Regions from separate parts of the Homo sapiens genome. Here region 2 is linked to region 1. Evidence: promoter capture Hi-C in human tissues and cell types (Jung and others, 2019). All regions are on one chromosome and are shown on one strand. Each heading gives the region's core, a stretch centred on a gene start or on the middle of the fragment in contact. The rest is flanking DNA. Distances are from core to core; before and after follow the strand shown.

Evidence for each region. The method cuts DNA at HindIII sites, captures the fragments that hold promoters and counts their contacts. A contact is called where the count stands out against the background at its distance.
Region 2: a fragment that was not itself captured here is called in contact with the fragment with the promoter of POLA2 in region 1 in 2 of the 25 tissues and cell types used here (aorta and bladder).

Annotation. Positions count from the first base shown.
Region 1 is chr11:65,259,652-65,263,799 of GRCh38, forward strand. It overlaps POLA2 (DNA polymerase alpha 2, accessory subunit), which reads left to right and starts at 2,311. Exons shown (of 18, transcript NM_002689.4): 1 at 2,311-2,720. The coding sequence starts at 2,642. RefSeq lists enhancers at 1,449-2,336, 2,331-2,580, 2,337-3,222. The HindIII fragment of the contact is 14,798 bases long and covers 1-4,148 here.
Region 2 is chr11:65,819,515-65,823,896 of GRCh38, forward strand. The region is part of intron 3 of LOC124902693; the gene reads right to left. Among named protein-coding and RNA genes, the nearest start is that of SNX32, 12 kb to the right of the region's middle. The HindIII fragment of the contact is 8,424 bases long and covers 1-4,382 here.

The sequences.
Region 1 (4,148 bases), core at 1,061-3,560:
AATTAATAAAACAAAAATTGGAAGAATATTTGCATAAGCTTAGGTCGAGGAGACCTTATTAAACAAAGCAGGAAACCTAAAACCCATACAGGAAAAGAATTGCACAGTGTTGTGTGGTAGAAAAAAAAACCCACAAAGTTAAAAGACAGGTTGGGAAAAATATGTATGTAACACATTTGATATCCATTGGTTATTGCTGATGGTGGGAAACTGCAAACATTTTCCGTAAAGAGCCAGAGAGTAAATATTTGAGGCTTAAGGGTGTGAACCCCAAAAGAGGTTCATGATGGATCCGGAGTGGCTAACTAGGCCTAAATTCAAAATACAGCCAAGCAGCCATTGGCTGACTAGAGGTCACACATACTTCGGTTTTTGTTTGCTTTTTTTTTTTTTTAGGCGGAGTCTCGCTCTGTTGCCCAGACTGTAGTGCAGTGGCACAATCTCGACTTACTGCAAGCTCCGCCTCCCGGGTTCACGCCGTTCTCCTGCCTCAGCCTCCCAAGTAGCTGGGACTACAGGTGCTCGCCACCACGCTAGGCTTTCTTTTTTTTTTCTTTTTTTTTTTTTTAGTAGAGACGGGGTTTCACCGTGTTAGCCAGGATGGTCTCGATCTCCTGACCTCGTGATCCTCCCGCCTCGACCTCCCAAAGTGCTGGGATTACAGGCGTGAGCCACCGCACCCGGCCTTTGTTTGCTTTTTGAGACACGATCTTGCTCTGTCGCCCAGGCTGGAGTGCAGTGAGGCGATCATGACTCACTTCAGCCTCGACCTCCCGAACTCAAGCGCTCCTCCAGCCTCAGCCCCCAGAGTGGCTGAGATCACAAGAACCCGCCACCACCGCCCGCTAATTTTTTGTAGAGAAGGGGTTTCGCCACGTTGCCCAGGCCGATCTTGAACTCCTGGGCTCAAGTTAAGGGAGGAGACCACCCCTCATATTGTCTTACGCCCAATTTCTGCCTCCAAAGAAAGAAAAAGTAAAACTAAAAGGCAGAAATGAAATCCACAAGCAGACAGCCCGGCCTCACACCCTAGGCTTGGTAAAGATGGACCCCTGACCTAATCAGTTATGTTATCTATAGATTACAGACACTGTATAGAAAAGCACTGTGAAAATCCCTATCCTGTTTTGTTCTGATCTAATTACTGGTGCATGCAGCCCCCAGTCACGTACCCCCTGCTTGTTCAATTGATCACGACCCTCTCAGGCGCACCCCCTTAGAGTTGTGAGCCCTTAAAAGGGACAGGAATTGCTCATTCGGGGAGCTCGGCTGGTGAGACAGGAGTCTTGCCGATGACCCCAGCCGAATAAACCCCTTCCTTCTTTAACTCGGGTGTCTGAGGAGTTTTGTCTGTGGCTCGTCCTGCTACAAAGTGATCCGCCTGCCTCGGCCTCCCAAATGCTGGGATTACAGGCGTGAGTGACCGCACCTGGCCTGGGATGGACATTTTAAAGGTTCCTGATACATATTGCTAAATTGTTTTCTCGAAACGCTCTATACCATCCCACCAGCATTGTATGACGCCTACGGTTGAGATTTTTGGCTCAAAGAATTACGGTGTATTTCAAGGGGAGAACCCTCTTCTCATCTTACCCCTAAACTCTATCCTTGAGTGACCTACCTTCACTCCCAAGCCTCCAGTCACCCACTGGGAATCTCTACCTGGAAATCCCAGAGGCACTCAAACTTAACGTGTCCAAAACTAAATTATCCGTCACCTTCCCACCTCATATCCCCCCAAATGCCCCAGATTCAGAAAACATACCCATCACTGTGGCTGGCACCACGGTGATAAGCACGATAATAACCATGGCAACCAGATTCCCTACTGAAGCCATTCTTTTAGGATGAACCAAGGGCACAACAGGCAGAGATGACAAGGGGAATGGAGAAGGGGGTACAGTAAGTTTTAGATAGTCGAAGGCACGCGCACGACAACGCCTGCGCACCACGGAACAGGGCAAAAGGGTGACAAACATGCGCCACTGAGTTTTATCGAGCAGCCGATGCCCAGAAAACAGGCATCCGCACACAGACTCAGTTTCCTTGTAGGCAACTCCCGGGCGTTGCGAGTCACAACCGGCATTCTCGCGCCGTGAGAGAGAACTGCGCAGCTGCTGACTGGCGGGCCGCCAGGCGCGTGCGTAGAGACGCCCACACGCCCGCTGATGCGCACGCGCCCTGGGCCGCGCGTGCGCGCGTGGGGTTCCGGAATGAGCCGGGGAAAGCAAGGGGAAGGTTTGGGGTTGGCTCCCGGTTTCGCGCATGCGTGCACTGCACAAACCATTTGGCGGGTTTTTCCGGCCACTCAGTTCTGCCACCGTCACTGAGAAGCTCAGCGGTAGCTTTTGGGAAGCAGGACGTTCTCACCAGGAGAGCGTCCTCTCGAGATTTCTGCTCCCTCCATTCAGGGCGTTTGGGAGCCACCCCTTCATTTTTTAAAAAAAGTATTTCTCTGTGACCGACGGCCGGGGCCTTCTGACGGTCTGAGGTCTTGCTTGGGCCAGTCACCTCCTGTCACGGTCCGCGGAGGGGGGAAGGATAAGAGGGCGAGGAGCTCATCGCTCGCCACCCCCGTGGGCTTCTTGGGCGCAGGTCGGAGCTGGGTGGGCCGGCTCCCCGGCCCCTGGCTTGGGCGACCATGTCCGCATCCGCCCAGCAGCTGGCGGAGGAGCTGCAGATCTTCGGCCTAGACTGCGAGGAGGCTCTAATTGAGAAATGTGAGTCCCGCACCCCTCCCGCCCTGCAGCCGTGCTCCACGCTCTCGCCCGAGTTCCTCGGCGCCTAGAACCGAAAGTGGAGCGCTTCCAATTTCCACTTCCCCTGGAGCAGAGTTCTCGGTGGCTGTGAGATGAAGAATCAAACTTGAGTTTTGAGATTTAGGATGTGGGGACTTTGAAATGCCCACCGGGTACCGCTTGGATGCCAAATCAAAAATAGGAATATGCAGCACGATTTTAAACCAACTCGAAGTTCCCGAAAGGCGGAATTGGGATGTGCTAGATAGAGACTAGGCACTGGTGGCACCTGAGTTTGGAAATTGTTGAAGCCCCGGTAACAAAGCAACAGATGTGGGGGTTTTGAAATGTAGCTTTTTATTCTTGGCTCCTCCCTTTCCAGCCTACACCTTAAACCTCTGCTGATCCATCAGTTATTTTATCATAGCTGTTGGTGGTCTGTGCAAATATGAATCCCTTGAGGTAGGTTCCTAAAATTGAATTTGAGCTGTGGAAGGAGCTTTAGGGAGCTTTACAGATGGAGAAACAGACAAGGAAAGCTAATTGCCTGAGCTGTCTGTGAAGCCAGGTGTCCTGCCTTGGAGTCCCGTGCTGCATCATACGGGTCCATCGTGTTGGTCAAGCTGTAGAGCAGTGTAAGGAGTCATTTGAAGCAAAGCCTGGGAGATGTGGAAGTTCTAGAATCGGTATGAATGTGCACCTGCCTTAACCACTCAACACTTTGAACTTCTTATATACAAAAAGATAACGAAACGTTAATTTATGGTGAGAAATTCCTTTCAGAAACCAGAATACTTCAAGTCTTCATGCCCAGTGCCTTCTCTCTCTCTCTTTTTTTTTTTTTTTTTTTTTGACAGTCTTGTTTTATCACCCAGGCTGGAGTGCAGTGGTGCAATCTCGGCTCACTTCAGCCTCCGCCTCCCAGGTTCAAGCGATTCTCCTGCCTCAGCCTCCCAAGTAGCTGGGATTACAGGCGCCCGCCACCAGGCCCGACTAATTTTTTTTTGTACTTTTAGTAGAGAAGGGGTTTCACCATGTAGGCCAGACTGCTCTCGAACTCCTGACCTCAAGTGATCCACCCACCTTGGCCTTCCAAAGTGCTGGGATTACAGGCATAAGCCAGCAGGCTCGGTCCTTCTCTTTTTAAAAGAAGACTAGCCAGGTGTGGTGGCTCACGCCTGTAATCCCAGCATTTTGGGAGGCCAAGGCAGGTGGATAATCTGAAGTCGAGAATTTGAGACCAGCCTGACCAACATGGAGAAACCCTGTCTCTACTAAAAATACAAAATTAGTCGGGCGTGGTGGCGCATGCCTGTAATCCCAGCTACTCAGGAGGCTGAGGCGGAAGAATCGCTTGAACATGAGAGGCAGAGGTTGTGGTGAGCCGAGATCACACCATTGCACTCTAGC
Region 2 (4,382 bases), core at 1,192-3,691, 560 kb after region 1:
CCAGTGGGGCCAACATGGTAAAACCCTGTCTCTACTAAAAATAGAAAAAAATTAACTGGGCGTGGTGGTGTGCACCTGTAATCCCAGCTACTGAGGAGACTGAGGCATAAGACTCTCTTAACCCTGGGAGGCAGAGGTTGCAGTGAGCCGAGATTGCACCACTGTCCTACCTGGTGACAGAGTGAGACTCTGTGTCAAAAAATAAAAATAAAAAAGGCCAGGCACAGTGACTCACGCCTGTAATACCAGCACTGGAGGAAGCCAAGGTAGGAGGATCACTTAGGCCCAGGAGTTCAAGACCAGCCTGGGCAACAAGATGAAACCACGGCTCTGCAAAAAATACAAAAATTAGCCAGGCACTGTGGCGTATGTCTATAGTTTCAGCTATTTGGGAGGCTGAGGTGGGAGGATTGCTTGAGCCCAGCAGGTGGAAGCCGCAGGGAACCATGATCACACCACCGCATTCCAGCCTGAGCAACAGAGTGAGATCCTGTCTCTAAATAATAATAATAATTAATAAAATAAAATAAAATAAAAATGAAAGGCCAGGCACAGTGGTGAGTGCCTATAATCCCAGCTACTCAGGAGACTGAGGTTGGAGGATCACTTGAGCCCAGGTGTTCTAATCCAGCTTGGGCAATGTAGGGAGACACCATCTCTATTTTAAAAAGAAAAGAAAGAAAAGGTGGGGATGATGAAAAAGGTTTTTAAATAGAAAGCGGTGGTGGTTGCACAACATTGTGAATGCACCAAATGCCACTGAATTGTAGGCTATAAAATGATTAATTATATGTTATATGCATTTCACCTCAATAAAAAAAATGAAAGGGCAGAATTGTAATATAATCATTATGATCATTCCTGCTTTAGACACTGCAAATACTTGATGAAGTCAACATAAAGAGAATAACTTTTATAGAGTGTTCTACAGTTGACATAAATGTTTTCATATAAATGATTTCATTTGTCCCTCCCAACAAGCCCATTAATTTGCAGACGAGGAAAACAGGATTGCAGATCAGTGGCTTCCTTCCAACAGGTAGGGCACACTCCCCCTCGGGGGCTCTGCCCTTGAGGCTCCCCGCTATGAAAAGACTTCCTCCAAACCACAGCTTCCCCCTCCCCTCTTGCTGGGCTCTGCTTCAAGGGTCACCAGAAGGGCCTTCCTCAAAGAGCGGCCCTCCTCCCCATCGTCATTCTCTCTCCCTTACCCTGCTTGAGTTTTTCTTTAAAATTCTTAGGACATATTATATTGACATTATTTCTTTTTGTCTCCTTCCACAACAATGTAAGCACCAAGAGAACAGTGCTATTTGTCAGTTTTGTTCTCTGTTATAATCCTGACATCTGGAATGGTACCTGACAAATAATAGGTGCTTAATAAATATTGTTAAATGAATGCATTTGTTAAAGGAATAATAACTTTACCATGAACTTGGCCAGATCTTTTGAGGATCCAAGGCTTTTTAGGTCACACCACAAAAACAAAATTACAATATGATGGAGATAAAATACCAGTTGTGAGAGGCCTGTAACAAAGCGCTACCCAGTTCACTGATTATTACCTGCGTGTGCTCCACTTATCCCCCAGGGAGGCACCTGTCTGTTGTATCCCTGGCTCCCAGCATGGTGCTGGACACCTAGTATTAGGCACTGATCTGCATCAGTAAGAAACAATGGATTCTGAGCAACACAAACAAGAACAGAACTGGCTACAGTGCACATCCCGGTCCCACCCTAAGTGTGCATATGGCAGGGAACGGGGAGTCTCTGAGGACCAGAGGAAGGAGGACACGCAGGACAGGGGCCAGAGTCCAGGGAGCAGCAGAGCATGGCCTTCTGAGCCCCACGTGATTTGTGTAGAAATAGCTCCCGAGACCAAGCTGATCTGCCATGTAAACCTCGCACGATTACTTCCTGTTCCCAGGGGAGAACTTGCAGGGCTAGCCTCTCGTGAGTGGGGTCAGCATGGTCTGACAGGATGGATGACCCCTGTGCTATGGACAGTGAGCCTCTGAGGGGCAGGGGCCACTCCATAATACTGTCCAGTGGCCTCTGAGAAATTCCTGGCCAGCACTGGCCGCCTTCCTCCAGTTCCTGAGCCAGGCAGCCAGGTGTGATGGAAAGTTGTCAGGTGTAACTCAAAGAACATAGATTAAGAGTCTAGAGGCCGAGCGCAGTGGCTCACACCTGTAACCCCAGCACTTTGGGAGGCCAAGGCAGGTGGATCACCTGAGGTCAGGAGTTTGAGACAAGCCTGGACAACATGGTGAAACCCCATCTCTACTAAAAATACAAAAATTAGCCGGGCATGGTGGCAGACACCTGTATTCCCAGCTACTTGGGAGGCTGAGGCAGGAGAATTGCTTGAACCCGGGAGGTGGAGGTTGCAGTGAGCTGAGATCAAGCCACTGCATTCCAGCCTGGGTGACAGAGCGAGACTCTGGCTAAAAAAAAAAAAAAAAAAAAAGCAAGAAAAGAAAAGAAAAAGAGTCGACTCCTGCACTTTGCTGGCAGCTCTGCTTCCTGCACCTGTTTGAACCTGTATCTCTAAGGGCAGTATACAGATTGCAAACAAAAACTCACACAAGCATGAAATGTGGTCATTTGCCCAACCTGACCATGGGCACGGAGAATTATTGTTATACTTTAAATGGAACATAATATTTAATACAGATAAATACCTGTTTGCCAGTGTGGACCTCACATTTGAACGTTATGGTACAGAAACATGTTTTCACCCTTTAATCATAAAAGTTTATTAAAATGTTCTTTTTTTTTTTGAGACCGAATTTCACTCTTGTCACCCAGGCTGGAGCACAAAGGTGCAATCTTGGCTCACTGCAACCTCCGCTTCCTGGGTTCAAGTGATTCTCCTGCCTTGGCCTCCTAAGTAGCTGGAATTACAGGCACCCGCCACCATGCCTGGCTAAGTTTTGTATTTTTAATAGAGATGGGGTTTCACCATGTTGGCCAGGCTGGTCTTGAAAAAATGTTCTGAAAGTGAAGTTTGTTTCTTTCCTTCTTTCCTTCCTTTCTTCCTTCCTTCCTTTTTTCCTTTTTTTTTTTTTCATGGTCTCGCTCTGTCACCCAGGCTGGAGCATAGTAGCACAATCTCGGCTCACTGCAACCTCCACCTCCCGGGCTCAAGTGATCCTCCCACACCAGCTTCCCGAGTAGCTGGGACTACAGGCGTGGTTCACCAGGACCCTCTAATTTTTGTATATTTTGCAGAGACGCGGTTTTGCCATTTACCTAGGCTGCTCTCAAACTCCTGGACTCGAGCAATCTGCACACCTCGGTGTCCTAAAGTGCTGGGATTATAGGTGTGAGCCACTGCACCCAGACTCTGAAACTGAATTTCTATAGAAAACTCCAAGCTTTGTAAACTGTGGTCCACACCCCCATAAACATGCACAGGTGCGCGCGTGTGCACACACACACACACACACACACAATCTTCCCCCACAGCTTCCTTATCATATGTCCAAAGTACGCAGCTCAAAATTCAAACAAATTATTTATTACAAAACAAATTTTAAAAAATCACAACGTGATTCGCATACTGGCAATAGGCTGTTACTTGCCATTTGCCAGGGTATGATTTGTATTTTGTTTTAATTTATGCTGGTTTCAGGAACTATGGCCATTTGCCTTTTTCCTGCACTACCCGTGCGCCTCCTGTGGGCACTCAGCATGGGGGGGCATGTAGTTTTTCTCACTTCCCGCAGCACGTTTTTATCTTATATTGCCTACAATTCAGAAAAGGTATTTAGCCATCAGTGGAGGCCTGGGCTTGGCGTGCATTCAATGCACAAACACAGCCTGGCTTCAAAGCCAAGCTGAGTGGCACACCTCGTGACAGAACAGCAGAAAGGCAGACCCAGGTGCCTGCGGAGGTGGCAGGGACCCCAGGCAGGCCAGTGGGGCCTGGCCAACAGGGGGGCACAGGCCCCAGCTGAAGGAAACAGAGAGAGGCAACTCCAGTTCCTATATGGGCCCAGTGTGGCCAGATCTTCTCATTTTCCAAGAAAAGCCAGAAACTCACTCTTTAATGTGAATCTCTGCATTTTAAAAAGGTACCAATTAATTCTAAACATGGTCTTAAAATATTCTTTGGGGCAAACATAACACATCTATGGCCGATGTGGCATCAGAGCCACCTAACTGTGAGCTCTCCGGAGCAGAAGATGGTTCCAGCAGGCTTCTGGCCCGAATCCGCCATTCATTCACTGCTGACTAGGGTGGTCGCTTCACCTCCCAATCACATGGCACTGAAGACCCAGCCAGCTGGTAGAGCTACCACATAGGTCCAAAACCTCCTCACACCACCACTTACTACCAACACATACTAGCTATGTCGTTTCGATTGACCACTCTGA